Linked DNA regions of Homo sapiens: region 1 is linked to region 2. Evidence: promoter capture Hi-C in human tissues and cell types (Jung and others, 2019). All regions are on one chromosome and are shown on one strand. The core of a region is centred on a gene start or on the middle of the fragment in contact, and the rest is flanking DNA. Distances in the headings are between cores, read along the strand shown. Region 1 has its middle 9.7 kb from the start of CAPN12. Region 2 holds the start of MRPS12 (mitochondrial ribosomal protein S12).

Region 1 (4,049 bases), core at 492-2,991, 180 kb before region 2:
TCACGGACACCAAGCTTTAAGTAACTCTCACAGTGGAAGGTAAGTCCGTCCCCTTCTTAATCAATACGGAGGCTACCCACTCCACATTACCTTCTTTTCAAAGGCCTGTTTCCCTTGCCTCCATAACTGTAGTGGGTATTGACAGCCAGGCTTCTAAACCTCTTAAAACTCCCCAACTCTGGTGCCAACTTAGACAATATTCTTTTATGCACTCCTTTTAGTTATCTCCACCTGCCCAGTTCCCTAATTAGGCCGAGACACTTCAAATTATCTGCTTCCCTGACTATTCCTGGATTACAGCTGCATCTCATTGCCGCCCTTCTTCCCAATCCAAAGCCTCCTTTGCATCCTCCTCTTGTATCCCCCCACCTTAACCCAAAGGTATAAGATACCTCTACTCCCTCCTTGGCGACCAATCATGCACCCCTTACCATCTCATTAAAATCTAATCACCCTTACCCCGCTCAATGCCAATATCCCATCCCACAGCATGCTTTGAAAGGATTAAAGCCTGTTATCACTCGCCTGTTACAGCATGGCCTTTTAAAGCCTATAAACTCTCCTTACAATTCCCCCATTTTACCTGTCCTAAAACCAGACAAGACTTACAGGTTAATTCAGGATCTGCGCCTTATCAACCAAATTGTTTTGCCTATCCACCCTGTGGTGCCAAACCCATATACTCTCCTATCCTCAGTACCTCCCTCCACAATCCATTATTCTGTTCTGGACCTCAAACATGCTTTCTTTCCTATTCCTTTGCACCTGTCATCCCAGCCTCTCTTTGCTTTCACTTGGACTGACCCTGACACCAATCAGGCTCAGCAAATTACCTGGGCTGTACTGCCTCAAGGCTTCACAGACAGACCCCATTACTTCAGTCAAGCCCAAATTTCATCCTCATCTGTTACCTATCTTGGCATAATTCTCATAAAAACACACGTGCTCTCCCTGCTGCTTGTGTCCGATTAATCTCCCAAACCTCGATCCCTTACAAAACAACAACTCCTTTCCTTCCTAGGCATGGTTAGTTCGGTCAGAATTATTACACAAGAGCCAGGCCCGCACCCTGTAGCCTTTCTGCCCAAACAACTTGACCTTACTGTTTTAGCCTAGCCCTCATGTCTCCGTGCAGCGCGTGCCGCTGCTTTAACACTTTTAGAGGCCCTCAAAATCACAAACTATGCTCAACTCACTCTCTACAGCTCTCATAATTTCCAAAATCTATTTTCTTCCTCACACCTGACGCATATACTTTCTGCTCCCTGGCTCCTTCAGCTGTACTCACTCTTTGTTAAGTCCCACAATGACCATTGTTCCTGGCCCGGACTTCAATCCGGCCTCCCACATTATTCCAGATACCACACCTGACCCCCATGACGGCATCTCTCTGATCCACCTGACATTCATCCCATTTCCCCACATTTCCTTCTTCCCTGTTCCTCACCCTGATCACGCTTGATTTATTGATGGCAGTTCCACCAGGCCTAATCGCCACACACCAGCAAAGGCAGGCTATGCTATAGTACAAGCCACTAGCCTGCCTCTTAGAACCTCTCACTTCCTTTCCATTGTGGAAATCTATCTTCAAAGAAATAAATTCTCAGTGTTCCATCTGCTATTCTACTACTCCTCATGGATTATTCAAGCCCCCTCCCTTCCCTACACATCAACTCGAGGATTTGCCCCCACCCAGGACTGGCAAATTAGCTTTACTCAACATGCCCCGAGTAAGATAACTAAAACACCTCTTAGTCTAGGTAGACACTTTCACTGGATAAGTAGAGTCCTTTCCTACAGGGTCTGAGAAGGCCACCACAGTCATTTCTTCCCTTCTGTCAGACATAATTCTTCAGTTTAGCCTTATCATTCCCTTCTGTCAGACGTAATTCCTCAATTTAGCCTTCCCACCTCTATACAGTCTGATAACAGACCAGCCTTTATTTGTCAAATCAGCCAAGCATTTTTTCAGGCTCTTAGTATTCAGTGACAGACTAAAACACACCTCACCAACCTCAGCCACCAACTTAAAAAGGACTGGACAATATTTTTACCACTTTCGCTTCTCAGAATTCAGGCCTGTCCTCAGAATGCTACAAGATACAGCCCATTTAAGTTCCTGTATAGACACTCCTTTTTATTAGGCCCCAGTCTCATTCCAGACACCAGACCAACTTAGACTGTGCCCCCAAATAACTTGTCATCCCTACTATCTTCTGTCTAGTCATACTCCTATTCACCGTTCTCAACTACTCATGCATGCCCTGCTCTTGTTTACACTGCCAGTTTACACAGTTTCTCCAAGCCATCACAGCTGATATCTCCTCGTGCTATCCCCAAACTGCCACTCTTAACTCTTGAAGTAAATAAATAATCTTTGCTGGCAAGGCTATGCTGAACCTCCTTAGGCACTCTCTAATTAGATGTCCTAGGTCCTCCCAATTCTTAGTCCTTTAATACCTGTTTTTCTCCTTCTCTTATTCCGTTTAGTTTTTCAATTCATACAAAACCGTATCCAGGCCATCACCAATCATTCTACACGACAAATGTTTCTTCTAACAACCCCACAATATCACCCTTTACCACAAAATCTTCCTTCAGCTTAATCTCTCCCACTCTAAGTTCCCACGCCGCCCCTAATACCGCTGGAAGCAGCCCTAAGAAACATCACCCATTATCTCTCCATACCACCCCCAAAAATTTTCACTGTCCCAACACTTTACTACTATTTCATTTTATTTTTCTTAATATAAGAAGACAGGAATGTCAGGCCTCTGAGCCCAAGCTAAGCCATCATATCCCCTGTGACCTGCACGTACACATCTAGATGGCCGGTTCCTGCCTTAACTGATGACATTCCACCACAAAAGAAGTGAAAATGGCCTGTTCTTGCCTTAACTGATGACATTGTCTTGTCAAATTCCTTCTCCTGGCTCATCCTGGTTCAAAAGCTCCCCTACTGAGCATCTTGTGACCCCCACTCTGCCCTCCAGAGAACCCCCCTTTGACTATAATTTTCCTTTATCTACCCAAATCCTATAAAAACAGCCCCGCCCTTATCTCCCTTCGCTGACTCTTTTCAGACTCAGCCCGCCTGCACCCAGGTGAAATAAACAGTTTTATTGCTTACACAAAGCCTGTTTGGTGGTCTCTTCACACGGACGCGAGTGAAAGTAAAACTGCTGAAAACAATTCAAAAAGGGCATTTTTTTTTTTTTTTGAGGCAGAGTCTCACTCTGTCGCCCAGGCTGGAGTGCAGTGGCACAATCTCGGCTCACTATAAGCTCCATCTCCCGGGTTCACACCATTCTCCTGCCTCAGCCTCCCGAGTAGCTGGGACTACAGGCACCCACCACCACGCCTGGCTAATTTTCTGTATTTTTAGTAGAGACGGGGTTTCACCGTGTTAGCCAGGATGTTCTCGATCTCCTGACCTCGTGATCCACCCTCCTTGGCCTCCCAAAGTGCTGGGATTACAGGCGTGAGCCACCGTGCCAGGAAAATGGAAAATTTTAAAGGAGCAAGTGAAAAACAGCTCATTATGTACAGGGGAACAATAGAATTAATGGCTAGATTCTCCTAGGAACAATGGAGGCCAGAAGGCAGATGAATGATTTATTCAAAACACTGAAAGAAAAATAAAACTGTCAACTGATAATTCTATATTCAACAAAACTATACTTCAAAACAAAAGGCAAAAGAAAATCATTCCCAGATAAACAAAAAGAGAATTCCTGACTAGCATATACCTAAACGCAGGGAATACTCAAGGAAACCCCTCACACTGAAAATGACAGTAGACAGAAACTCAAATCCACAGGAAGAAATGAAGAGCCCCAGAAATGTATTTTTCTTTTCTTCTTTTAATTTATTTTAAAACATAAGGTCAGGCTGGGCACGGTGGCCCACGCCTATAATCCCAGCACTTTGGGAGGCCGAGGCAGGCAGATCATGAGGTCAAGAGATCGAGACCATCCTGGCTAATGTGGTGAAACCCCGTCTCTACTAAAAATACAAAAAAAATTAGCCGGGTGTGGTGGCGGGTGCCT
Region 2 (4,347 bases), core at 457-2,956:
ATGAGAGGGCACAGCAGGGTACTTAAGATTGTGGAGTCTGGGTGTGGTGGCTCATGCCTGTAATCTCAGCATTTTGGGAGGCCAGGGTGGGAGGATCACTTGGGCGCAGGAGTTCAAGACCAGCCTGGGCAACATAGTATGTCCCTGTCTCAACAAAAAATACAAAAGTTTAGCCGGGCGTGGTGGTGTCTGCCTGTAGTCCCAGCTACACGGGAGGCTGAGTGGGAGGATTATTTGAGCTCAGGAATTCAAGGTTCCAGTGAGCTATAATTGTACCACTGTACTCCATCCTGCCATCCTGGGCGACAGAACAACACCCTATCTCAAAAAAAAAAAAAAAAAAAGTGGATTCTAGGCCAGAAAGCACAGGTTAAAATTCCCACTCTGCCACTTCCCAGTTGCATGACCTAGCGCAAGTGAATTAGCTTCTCGAAGCCTTAGTTTCCCCTCTGATAAAATGGGAGAAATAATGGCACCTACTTCATAGAGTTGCTGTGAAAATTAAACGAGGTTAAAGTGAATAAAGCACTTCAAACAGGCTGGGAGGGGAGTCCAAGAGAGGAATGGGAAGACGTGGGGACCCCACTATCGTTAGCACCTCAACACAGAGATATTGTGAACCCGGTCCTAATTCCCTTTTATAAGTGCTAGCAATTTTATTATTATTCACCGCATATTTGCAACATCTAGAACACCGGAATATAGCAGTTGCACCTTAAGTATCAGTTTAATAGAACCATTCATTAATGGATTCATTCATTCATTCATTAACTCTATTTAACTGCCTGCTATGTGTGGCGGAGGTGCACAACTCTCCCTACCTCTCTCTCTAAACGCAAGAGCTCCACCACACCCCAGCCCTGACCCCGTCCGATTCACACTTGGCTCCCCATTTTCCTTTGTGGTCTTAGGGAAAGGCTGGCATGAGGTTGCAGCACGGAGGGCAATGTCACATAGCAAGTTCCTAAAGGACAGGAGGTACCCAGCGAGCAGTATGAAACAAGCGCATAATGGGTGTCCAGGACACAGTAGGCATTCTTGGCACATAGTAGGGCCTCAGCACTCACTGGACAACTGGCACATAAGTGGGTGCCATGCACAAGACGTTGGCTAACTTGGGAAATAACTAAAATTCCTACTACAGGTTCGCCCCCTGCCGGAGGGCATCTTGCAAACCCAATTCTTCCGTAAAGCAAACGTCTGCGCCCCCCGGCCGGCGCAGGCGCACTCACGATCGCGGGCAGGTCCGCCGAGCGCAGCTCCCCCTTGCGGAGCTCCAGGGCGTGTGCGGCCTCTTCTGGGCATGCGCAGAACCGCTCTATGTCCAGCTGAGGGAGTGCGCTGTAGCCCTCGCGCGCATACTCGTACAGGAGGTTCCGGTTTCGTTTCTCTGTAGTGAAACTTCTCCTTGGACTATCGTTGGAGATGCAGCCTCCCCGGGGCCGGAACCCCCGACGAGTCAGCAAAGGCCACAAGCGCCGCGCCATGGACGCAGCCATCTTGGACCGGGAACAAGGCGGCACTTCGTCCCGCCCACTCCGCGTTTAGACCAATTGCAAGGCAGCGAACCTGACCGTGACGAGCCAATCAGATCCTGAGGAAAGTTGACCGCGATAGAGTCCTTCGTCGCCCAATCGTCGTCTGTGTCCCGCCTCTTCAGTGACGCGAGGCAGAACCAGCCAATCCCTGCACGGATAGCGCCCGGAAGAGGCTAGAAGCTGGATTCAGCGTGTCCGCGACCTCACCTTTAGGTCCTGTGAGGTCGGTGGAATCCTGGGGTCCTCCAAATCTACCAGGCCATCTCCCCAGTTTCCCAGTTCTTCCTGCGTGCGGGCGAGAGTGGTTGGGCCCTCGGGAACCCACTCAGAGCGAGGCTAAATTTACGGAGGGACTTTCTGTTAGCAGCATGAGGGCCTGTGGTTAGACCTATAGAGGTATTTCCTTTGATTTAAGCCAGAAAGTCCTGAGAGCGGATCGGGGAGCATTTGCGGATCGGTCACTTTTTCCTCCTTTCTGAGTCTCTTATCCCCTACCACAGGGACGGCCCAGGTGGCAGGATGTCCTGGTCTGGCCTTCTCCATGGCCTCAACACGTCCCTAACTTGTGGTAAGTGGGGGACTTGGGCTTCAGGGACGAGGCTAGAGGGGGAGGGTTATTCGCTCTTGGACTTGTGTGCCTCCGTCGGAGCCCCGAGGGAAACGGGGGTGGAAAAACACGGTGGGGTTTTGGCAGAGCTAGGGCTGCTAGAGCAAGAGGTGGGAAGCAGCTGCATGGAGGGCTACTGCGTGTCAAGCGGCGTTTGGGTCAGTTTTATTATTTATTTATTTAAGATCTCCCTCTGTCGCCCAGGCTGAAGTGCAGCGGTGTGATCACAGCTCACTGCAGTCTCGACCTCCTGGGCTCAAGTGATCCTCCCGCCTCAGCCTCCCAAGTAGCTGGGACCACAGGCCTGCAGAACCACAACCAGCTAACTTTTTGATTCTTTGTAGAGAGGGAGGTCTCCCTGTGTCGCCCAGTCTGGCCTTAACTCCTGAGCTCAAGTGACCCTCCACAGCCTCCAAAAGTGCTAGGATTACATGCATGAGCCACTGAGCCTACTATTATTTTAAACAGCATTAAAAATAATGCTTCCTGGCCAGCCGTGGTGGCTCACGCCTGTAATCCCAGCACTTTGAGAGGCCGAGGTCAGGAGTTCGAGACCAGCCTGACCAACATGGTGAAACCCCGTCTCTACTTAAAAATACGAAGATTAGCCGAGCGTGGTGGTGGGTGCCTGTAGTCCCAGCTGCTCAGGAGGCTGAGACAGGAGAATTGCTTGAACCCAGGAGGCAGAGGTTGCAGTGGGCCAAGATTGAGGTACTGCACTCCAGCCTGGGCGACAGAGTGAGACTTTGTCTCAAAAAAAAAAAAGAAAAAAAAAAAAAAGGTAATGCTTCCTTGAAGAATAAAGAGTTACTTTTGTCTGTAGATAACATTAGATGTGAACAAATGCATCTTTGTAAAGTGCTTTAAACAATGCCTAAAACACCAAAATTGAGTTGCTACTACTCTAAGATCTGTTCTCTGGGATAATAACCCCTTTCGGCCCTCTCCAGGCCCAGCTCTGGTTCCCCGGCTCTGGGCTACCTGCTCCATGGCTACCCTGAACCAGATGCACCGCCTGGGGCCCCCCAAGCGGCCGCCTCGGAAGCTGGGCCCCACGGAAGGCCGGCCGCAGCTGAAGGGTGTGGTCCTGTGCACGTTTACCCGCAAGCCGAAGAAGCCCAACTCAGCCAATCGCAAGTGCTGTCGAGTGCGGCTCAGCACTGGCCGCGAGGCCGTCTGCTTCATCCCTGGGGAGGGCCACACCCTGCAGGAGCACCAGATTGTCCTTGTGGAGGGCGGCCGCACCCAGGACCTGCCAGGCGTCAAGCTCACCGTTGTGCGTGGCAAGTACGACTGTGGCCACGTGCAGAAGAAGTGACGGCTGGGGGCACAGTGGGCTGGGCGCCCCTGCAGAACATGAACCTTCCGCTCCTGGCTGCCACAGGGTCCTCCGATGCTGGCCTTTGCGCCTCTAGAGGCAGCCACTCATGGATTCAAGTCCTGGCTCCGCCTCTTCCATCAGGACCACTATTAAGCCATAGGAGTCCTGGGGGTGCAAAGGGTGCCCCTCTGTCAACACCCTTGGCTCCTGTGTTTAGAGGGGTGGCCTGAAGGACCTTTTCTGCTGGGACAAGACACTGTACTGCCCTCTGCTGGGAAGGGGTTTTAATAAACAGACCCTGGCGCTTGTGATGTAAATCCCCTTGTGGAGTATTTGCCCTCTGTGTGGCTGTGGCAGTGGACATCTCTGAGCTTCAGTTTCCTCCAGAAAATAGCTCCATTGGTGGTATCTCCTTTGTTTGGTTTGGTGAAGATTAAATTCGATGCTCTATGTGCATAACACGCACGGAGGGCTCTTTTTTTTTTTTTTAGACAAAGTCTCACTCTGTTGCCCAGGCTGGAGTGCAGTGGCCTGATCTCAGCTCACTGCAACCTCTGCCCCCCGGGTTCATATGATTCTCCTGCCTCAGCCTCCCGAGTAGCTGGGATTGTAGGCACACACCACCAGGCCTGGCTAATTTTTGTATTTTTAGTAGAGACAGCGTTTCACCATGTTGGCCAGGCTGGTCTCAAACTCCTGAGCTCGGGTGATCTGCCCACCTTGGCCTCCCAAAGTGCTGGGATTACAGGCGTGAGCCACCACGCCTGGCAGAGGGCTACTGTATTTTAAGCTTAGGAGTCAGGTAGGTGGCACAGAGGCCCAGGTCTTCTTCCTGCAGGCCATGGGTTCTGGGCACATAAACTCTGCCCTCAAGCATGGAC

The links. The method cuts DNA at HindIII sites, captures the fragments that hold promoters and counts their contacts. A contact is called where the count stands out against the background at its distance.
Region 1: a contact is called between a fragment that was not itself captured here and the fragment with the promoter of MRPS12 in region 2, in 6 of the 25 tissues and cell types used here (H1 embryonic stem cells, dorsolateral prefrontal cortex, heart right ventricle and 3 more).

The regions. Positions count from the first base shown.
Region 1 is chr19:38,752,125-38,756,173 of GRCh38, forward strand. No RefSeq gene overlaps it. Among named protein-coding and RNA genes, the nearest start is that of CAPN12, 9.7 kb to the left of the region's middle. The HindIII fragment of the contact is 9,984 bases long and covers 1-4,049 here.
Region 2 is chr19:38,929,238-38,933,584 of GRCh38, forward strand. It overlaps MRPS12 (mitochondrial ribosomal protein S12), which reads left to right and starts at 1,707. Exons shown (of 3, transcript NM_033362.4): 1 at 1,707-1,761; 2 at 2,039-2,106; 3 at 3,096-3,931. The coding sequence starts at 2,058. The coding sequence ends at 3,463. SARS2 (seryl-tRNA synthetase 2, mitochondrial) reads right to left here and starts at 1,526. Exons shown (of 16, transcript NM_017827.4): 1 at 1,233-1,526. The coding sequence starts at 1,499. RefSeq lists an enhancer at 1,151-1,610. The HindIII fragment of the contact is 13,053 bases long and covers 1-4,347 here.